Linked DNA regions of Homo sapiens: regions 1 and 3 are each linked to region 2. The links are contacts of gene promoters, found by promoter capture Hi-C in blood cells and fetal thymus (Javierre and others, 2016). All regions are on one chromosome and are shown on one strand. The core of a region is centred on a gene start or on the middle of the fragment in contact, and the rest is flanking DNA. Distances in the headings are between cores, read along the strand shown. Region 1 holds the start of POLR3B (RNA polymerase III subunit B). Region 2 holds the start of DEPDC4 (DEP domain containing 4). Region 3 has its middle 2.1 kb from the start of TCP11L2.

What was found. The method cuts DNA at HindIII sites, captures the fragments that hold promoters and counts their contacts. A CHiCAGO score of 5 or more calls a contact.
Region 1: the fragment with the promoter of POLR3B here is called in contact with the fragment with the promoter of DEPDC4 in region 2 in 1 of 17 cell types (neutrophils); the score reaches 5.5 in neutrophils.
Region 3: a fragment that was not itself captured here is called in contact with the fragment with the promoter of DEPDC4 in region 2 in 1 of 17 cell types (fetal thymus); the score reaches 6.0 in fetal thymus.

What each region holds. Positions count from the first base shown.
Region 1 is chr12:106,356,330-106,359,029 of GRCh38, forward strand. It overlaps POLR3B (RNA polymerase III subunit B), which reads left to right and starts at 1,419. Exons shown (of 28, transcript NM_018082.6): 1 at 1,419-1,622. The coding sequence starts at 1,551. The HindIII fragment of the contact is 8,226 bases long and covers 1-2,700 here.
Region 2 is chr12:100,265,629-100,268,328 of GRCh38, forward strand. DEPDC4 (DEP domain containing 4) reads right to left here and starts at 1,451. Exons shown (of 10, transcript NM_001364818.2): 1 at 1,292-1,451. The coding sequence starts at 1,448. SCYL2 (SCY1 like pseudokinase 2) reads left to right here and starts at 1,549. Exons shown (of 18, transcript NM_017988.6): 1 at 1,549-2,164. RefSeq lists enhancers at 1,294-1,373, 2,044-2,113, 2,124-2,183 and silencers at 1,744-1,793, 1,894-1,973. The HindIII fragment of the contact is 4,398 bases long and covers 1-2,398 here.
Region 3 is chr12:106,299,326-106,302,025 of GRCh38, forward strand. It overlaps a transcript of TCP11L2 not described here. Among named protein-coding and RNA genes, the nearest start is that of TCP11L2, 2.1 kb to the right of the region's middle. The HindIII fragment of the contact is 2,139 bases long and covers 296-2,434 here.

The sequences.
Region 1 (2,700 bases), core at 169-2,668, 6.1 Mb after region 2:
GGCAGGGTTGATTCTACTTTTGGTGTTTTTTCCATTCTTCTCGTATTTCAGATATCAGTGCAATACTTAGAAAATACGGCCGGGCGCGGTGGCTCACGCCTGTAATCCCAGCTACTCGGGAGGCTGAGGCAGGAGAATGGCGTGAACCCGGGAAGCGGAGCTTGCAGTGAGCCGAGATTGCGCCACTGCAGTCCGCAGTCCCACCTGGGCGACAGAGCGAGACTCCGTCTCAAAAAAAAAAAAAAAAAAAAAAAAAAAGAAAATACAAGTACTGAAATTTAAGTAGCTCTTTAGTAAATAAGAATAATTAACCTGGTGCAAGGGTTCTACCTTTATGAGGGAGAAATTGGAAAGCATATATGTACTTACAAATTTTCATAACTTTTCTTATCGTTGTAAAATATACATAAAACTTAGCATTTTAACCCTTTAAAATGATGTACAGGTCAGCAGCATTAAATACATTCACACTGTTGTGCAACCATCACCATTCTCCATTTACAGAACTTTTGCATCTTCCCAAACCGAAACTCCGTACCCATTAATTAATTGGTGCATTTTGCCTTGTTTTTTCTAATAGGATTTTTCTTTCTGTTGATTTGTATGAGCTCATTTTAAATTAGAGAGACCAGCCCTTTGTCTTCTGCCAATTTATTTTTTATTAATTCTATTTGTTGGTGATTTTTTAAAATCTGTTCAGAAAATTAAAAATTTTCCGTGGAATCATAAAATCGTGTTTAGATTATAAAATCCTTTATGATTTGACTGTTGCCGTCTTGAAAGTCTTCAACATCTCAATGTTATGAATATCTGCACTTACATTTTCTTCTAAGTTTTTGTTAACATTTCAATATTTAATCCACAAAAGATTCACTTACATGTATTTTTTCCCCAAATGGGTAATCAGCTCTTCAAACATTATTTACTGGACAGGCCATCCTTCCCCTACTAACGTAAATGTCATCTTTTCATATTAAATTTCTCCATGCGCTGGGTATTTACTCCTACATCTTCCATCTAGTGCTTTTGAGAATTTTCAACACTCTTCCATTACACGCATGTACCATCATTTATTTAATCAATCTTCTATTGGTAGGCATTTGGGACGTTTCCTGCTCTTCCATACTAAACAATGCATAGAATTTTGGACTACATTAAATAATTCTCTGCCTCAGTGGTTCAAGTTGCGTAAATTATGCGTTTACACTTTTCTTCGGATTACTTTTAAAATGACAACCACTATGTTTTGCTGGTCTCAATTACCAGAGAATTGGCAAGAAACCTGACAGCTGGGGCTTAGGATTCCCTGCGCCAGACCTCCGAGCTACACCAGAGGGCGTACTTTCCTTACTCGGCCTCGGCCACATCCGGGTTCCACCGCAGATTCGGGCAGGGAGCGGGCGGAACCTTTCTACCGCGTCTCTAGCTAACACGCACGGCGGGGACAGTTTAGGCCTCCGCGCACCGTTCGCCGGGAGTCTTGCAGTTTGCTTGGTGCAGGGAAGGCGGGCGCGGAGGTTCTATCTGTTTCTTCCTCCTTCGTGAGCAGCATGGACGTGCTAGCGGAGGAGTTTGGGAACCTGACTCCGGAGCAGCTGGCGGCGCCGATCCCGACTGTAGAGGTCAGTGCCAGGCACGCAGGGAGCGTCAGGGACAAGGATGCGCCCTGAGGGGGCGTTGCCCGGAGTGCTCGGGCCGCCAAGGGGGCGGGCTGGCGGTTTGTGCGCATGCGCCGGGCTTCTGCGCATGCCCAGAGCGTCGCGCTTGCGAGTCTTTTTTCCAGAGCCGGCCTCCGCGTGCGCGAGTGAAGGCTGATCCCAGAGGAGCTGTCAGCCGCTGCGGGGGCCGAGAAGCCCCGCTGCTGGCTCTAGGGTTGGAGCTCTTCCAGCATAGGTGTGCGTGGGGAGGACTGACCCTCGCACTTACTGTGGGGGACGTATTGCATGTTTGCAGTCTTACAGAGGACACGGGGCCAGGGAGCTCAGGCCATTTGCATGAGGCACCACAGCCGGCTGTGGGGGTAAAACCAGATCGTCTGAATTCCAAGCTAGTCATCTTTCCTTTTAACTTGAAGTTCCAGTTTGGGTTGCAGGGGAATTTTAAACGCCCTCAATATTTACTAAAGAATTTGCCTGTGTGTTTTCTGGGGGAGAGACTCCACAGCTTTCATCAGCTTCTCGGAAGTTAAGGACAGCTGCCCCACAGCGAGCTGCCCAGTGAAGTGCGGCTGTCGACATATTTTGTTATCTGATAAGGCACATTTTGTAATCTCTCTGAGCCTCAAAATCTACACTGACGTGGAATAGGGAAGTGGAGACGTGGCCGGAGAAGATAGCAAAGGAGAGATTTCAGGGAAAGAGAACAGGATACTTGAAACCTCCTCGGCAAGACCATTGGATGTTTTTGAGGAAGGAAAGTAAATCCAGTAGTATTAGAGTGAAGAAAAATAGAGGAGAAGAGATAAAAGACAGGGTTAAGTAAGGGTCTTGATTATGAAAAGTTTCAATAAACATCTGACAGAGCTTGGACTTTGTCTTGGAGCAGAGCTTTTGAAGGGTTTAAGCAGGAAAGTGACATGATCAGTAAGTCTATCGGATTATAAGAACCTCCTTGGCTAGGCGTGGTGGCCTGTAATACCAGTAGTTTGGGAGGCCAAGGCGGGCGGATCACTTGGGCTCAAGAGTTTGAGAACAGCTTGGG
Region 2 (2,700 bases), core at 201-2,700:
ACCCTTACTATAGAATAGTAGCCAGCCATTAGAAAGAATGAAGTAGAGCTATGTTTATAGTGTGCAAGGATCTCATTAAGTAGGGAAAAAGAAAAACCCAAAACAAAAATTTTTTAAAAATGAGCTGAGCAGAACAACTTGTATATTATTATCCTACTTAGGTAAAAATGAATTCCCAACCTATGTAAAAATGTATGTAAATAAATAGAAAGATCTGGAAGAATAAACTTCAAACGAGTAACCTTGGGGAAGAAGGATTGTAATGGTGGCTGATGAAAGAGGATGTACCCTTTTAAAGTGTACAATTCAGTGTTTCTAGTACATTCACAAAGTTGTGCAGCCATCACTATTATCTAATTTCAGACCATTGCATCATTCCACAAAGAAACCTATAGTTCGCAGTCATTCTTCATTCTTCCGTACCCCAGTAAAATTTTAATTAAAATTAAATTTAATTAAAATTAATTAAAAAAATTAAAGAATGATAAGGGAATAACTTAGAACTTCTAGAATGTTTTTTCTAGATTTGCAGGGGGAAGTGGGTAGAATCCAAGAACTTAAGCTCTCTTCTCCAACTATGCATAACCGCAAAAGTATGCCCAACTATACATATGTTTACGATAAAATGACAGAAATAAAAATCCACCACCCTCAAATTCCTTCTGTAACAGAAGTTACCCGTCTAATCACTCAAGAAATCTTATCCCCAGACATTGTGGGCAGAGCGGAGACTGAGGAGGGGAGGCCAGAAAGTGATGGGCGGAGGTGGGCAGGAGGGTACTCGACGGGGTAGGTGGAAAATACAGCGGTACAGCCTGTTTTCCATAGACAGTCTACCTCTCTAACCTTCATTAAACAAGTAGGCTAGATTAAAGAAATAACTCCTCTAGCTCAAGGAATTTGCCCTCTAGTACATTAACCCCTTGTTGCTGTAAGTGTAGCCTAGGGACCAGCAGCATTGGTGCCATCTGGACATGTATTAGAAACGCAGATTATCAGACCCTACTCCTCAATCAGAATTTGCACTTTCACAAGATCCTAGGGATTCGTATGTATATTAAAGTTTGAGAAAAAACGCTTTCCTGCACGCTCCAAGGGCACTTCACCACAGTAACCCCTAAAAAGCCTCAGTCCTGGGTCCCCCAGTCCAGTGCCTGGTAGGGCAGGAAGGGGGCGGGGCTAGGAAATGGGCGGGGCCCTGGACCAATGAGGAGCAGAGTCCCAGCCGCCTGCTCCCTTCAGCTGCCCCCTCCACCTTCACTGCACATTTGGCTAGGATATACAGGGCTACCTGTCCTCCTTTTCCGGCAGAAGCCATCTCTACGGTTCCTGGAACTTGGCCCGTTCAGCCCTGGGCCCGGAAGCTCGTTCTGACTGACAAGTCTACGGAACCTCGGAGTCAAAAGAACCGCCATAAGCTCGCGCGCTGGCTCCTCCCCTGGCACCATAGCCCCGCCCCACCTGACACCCGGGGCGGAGAGAAGTACTGGCTCCGCCTCTTCCGAACCGGCAGGAAGTGACGTCATGCCCCCGGCCGGCAGGTCTTTTAGTCTTTTTCCCCCTCCCTTACTCTTCGTCCCCGGTCCCTCCCCTCCCCACCCCTTTCCTTCTAGCTCCGACGTTTGCGGCCGCGGGGGCGGCGGAGGATATGGAGTAAAGCCAGAGTCAGTGGCCAGGCACGAAGGCAGAGCAGGAACAGCCAGGAGGCGTTTATTAGGGGGGCGGGGGGAAAGAGCCCCAGCACCGCCCCTCCTGGAAGAAGGAAGAGGTAAGTGACCGGCCGCCGGCACCGACCGACCTCCCTCACCGGCGGCTCTCTCGCCTGGGCTCCCGGAGCCGGCGAGGAGGGAATGGAGGACTCGCGCCCGGGTTAGGCCTCCCAGGGCCGCTCAGGCTGGTGGGTGTTGCCTGGTGACGGGCCTGCCGGCGGCCGGCCGGGCGATCGGCGGTCGGCGCCCGCGCAAAGCGGGGCTGGACGAGCAGCGAGCTCCGGGGAGCGGATCCGAGAGGGCCGAGTCCTCGAAAGAGGCCTTGAGGCGACGGGAGACCCGGGATCGAAGTCAGCTGCCGGAGGGAGAGCCCCCCATGCCGGCTCGAGAGCTCGGGTTTCGGTGGTGGAGAACGTAGTACCTTTCGGGGACATTGGACACTACTCTAGGACCGGGTGAGAGAGTTCACCTCAGTTCTGAGGTCCGGAATCCGGTAGCCTGGGTCACCAGCCAGGGCCCTGCCGCCCGCCGTCCTTCTCTGACAGTAGCTTTAGTTCTGGAATGGAAGGTTATTGTGTGTGAGGTGGGTGGGGCAGGGGTTTTGTTAAGAGAAAAAACCCCACGGTTACTCCTGCAGTCTTGTTTTTCTAAACGGGAGAATACGGATGGAGGAGGGTTTAGACCGATAAAGCTTGCAAAAACTTATTGGACTTTGAGCACATACCTGTGATCCGTAATTAAGGAGGCCATATTATCAAATCCACCCTCTAAGGCACTCGAGGAGGCTCCAGACAAGCTGCTTAAAAGCGCTATGCCTGTAGTGACTTCATTGGAAGGTGTCAACTATTTTTTAGTACGTCAAACTCAGGAATTATTTGTGATGACACTTTCTAAAAACATTGGATACTATGAGTGAGTTTTCTAAGTAGCCTATCTCCGTTCTGAAAAATAAATAGTTTAGCAAAAATGCTCCAAATCAGCCTGCCACTGT
Region 3 (2,700 bases), core at 115-2,614, 6.0 Mb after region 2:
GACATAAGTTTCTTCAAGTGAGCACTGGTTGAAATAATTGATTGGCACTTAGGGGCAGGAAGATAAGCACCTTTAACCACTAGACTCATATTCTGTGTGGGGAGATCAGGACCAGTTACATAATTTGCCAGGTCCAGTGCAAAATGAAAATGCAAGGCCCCCTTTCAAAAAGCACAGTATTAAGAATCTCAACACAACAGCAGCAATGTATTAAACCAAGCACAGGGCTCTTCCAAGGGTGGGGCCTTGTGCAACTGCCCAGACTGCACGAACATGAAGCCAGCCGTGGGAAAGAAGCTTGGAACATAATGAGAAGCTCAGAAACTCAGATAAACACAGTAAGAGAAGCCTCACAACTCCCATAGAGAGAAATAGGGGACAAGATCACTGGAAGTATTTAAATTATTCTCTTGTGTTCCTCATATTCTGTCCTAGATGAGTCCCGTATAGCTAAATTTGCATTACATTAAATCAGTACAATATGCAACTCCACTAGAAAAGTTATAAGGCTGAGAGGTTGCAAATCCAACTGTAATTACATTTTTAGATTTTTGTCAATGATTTATTATAATTTAAAACTCAGATTTCAGATGTGTAAAAAGAAAATGAGTATTTCTATTTCTTCATCGAACAAAAATTTTGATCTGCCCTTAGTCTTTTGCCAAGAGTGATAGACCACATTTAGTCTACCGTGTAATTTACAGGGAGAAAAAAAAACTGTATTACTGTGAGTTCTCTAAGTGGTTCAAAAAGGTAAGTTAGAAAAACTAGGTGTAATAATATGTCTTCTTCAAATAAAATGCTAATTATTTTACTTCTAAAGAGGTTGCCTTTTCAGATTTTGTTGTTTTTTTTTTTTCCTCAGAAAGCCATAAACATAACCTGAGCAGGGAAGATTTTGTGTTATGACTGTCTGAGCCCTCTGAGCAACAATGTGATACAAGGCTCATTTTTGAGGGAACTGCCTTATATTTTACAGCACTCCATTTTTTCAAAGTGTTGTTTTTGTTTTGTTTTGTTTTGAGATGGAGTCTCGCTCTGTCGCCCAGGCCGGAGTAAAGTGGCGTGATCTCGGCTCACTGCAACCTCCACCTCCCAGGTTCAAGCGATTCTCCTGCCTCAGCTTCCAGAGTAGCTGGGATTACAGGTGCGTGCCACCACGCCCAGCTAATTTTTTTGTATTTTTAGTAGAGACGGGGTTTCACCGTGTTAGCCAGGATGGTCTCGATCTCCTGACCTTGTGATCCACCTGCCTCGGCCTCCCAAAGTGCTTGGATTACAGGCATGAGCCACCGTGCCTGGCCCAAAGTGCTTTTATACACAAGTCAGGCCAAGGGCAGTTGGTCAGGTAATTCACAGAAGGGTTTTCAGATAGCAAGTTATTTAACATTAAAGTAACAGAAGATAGTATTTCCAGCATCTTTTCTTATCTCAGCTTGGTTCTCTGATGTTACAGTTGAACTTGCTTTGACAAAAGCTGCTTTCCTGGTGGCTTTGAGAGCTACATATCTGAACTTTAAAAGAAGTGTCATGCCTAGGATCAGGCAGCTGGTCACTCCAGTATAAAGGACAACTACCCTGACTCATGGTCACCTGCTCCAACTTATGTCATAGCTCAAAACAATACTTAAATCCTTACAAAGCTAACAAAGGAAGTAATGTTGCCATGTGTCATTGTCACAGAATTACCAGAAGTTTGGGGGATTTGGGTGTTCATCTTTCTATTGTGGAGTTTTTAGGGTGGTGATGGCAGTTGTGTGGTGGTTGTCATTTGGCAGGAATTGAAATTGGAGGCTTCTGTCATTCTGATTACTTATCCAACGAATGACACAAATAAGAGCATGTTTGTAGGGAAGAACTCAGGTGGGGACAGCACCTTCTATTTAATCTCTTAACCTGTATTATTAGGTTGTATATTTTAGGAGAAGAGAGGAAAGTGGCAAAAGGAGGCACAGATACAAATTTATACAGATCACCAGCTAAGTTTGGCCACAGTGGTTTGCCAAAGAATTTCAATAACTAATACTTAGAGTGCTTACTGTGCACCCTGCTAAGCACTTCACATGCTTTATTTCACTTTATCCTCAAAATAACCCAAGGAAATAGCTATCATTGTTATCCCCAGAGACCAAGATCTCATGGATAGTGAATGTCAGAGCCAGGACTGGAACCATAGAGGAGTCTGTGTTGTAACCACTGAACAACTGACTTTCTACCCTGCTTTAAAATGTTGCCTGTTGTTTGTTGTTGTTGTTTTTGAACGGTGGTGGCCAATCTGCCTCCACAATCCAGACATAATTTCGGCACTAAACAGAAATACTTTAGTCTATACAAACTTCATGTAAGTAGTTCCTGCATGAAACTATTTCCCAAGTAATACAGCACCGATTTACACCTGGCAGAAGGCATAGTTTTGATGTGAACAGTTGGGGGAAGCTTGTTTCTCTACACCCTCAAGCACGCCCACAGCAGGAGCTGAGCAGCAGGCCAGACGGCACAGAGCCCTCCTGGGACTGGTTATTTACATTAACCAAGGTGGAAACTTCTCCCGGAGATAGGTGCTGCCAAGAACCCTAGAGGAAGTAAGACGCTTTATCTTTTGCACGCACGCCAAGTCTTCAGAGGGCCTGGATGGGTGTGACTCCAAGGAGCTAATCGTCCCGTGCAGGTGCAAATCTAGACCCGTGTTTATGTGGAGGT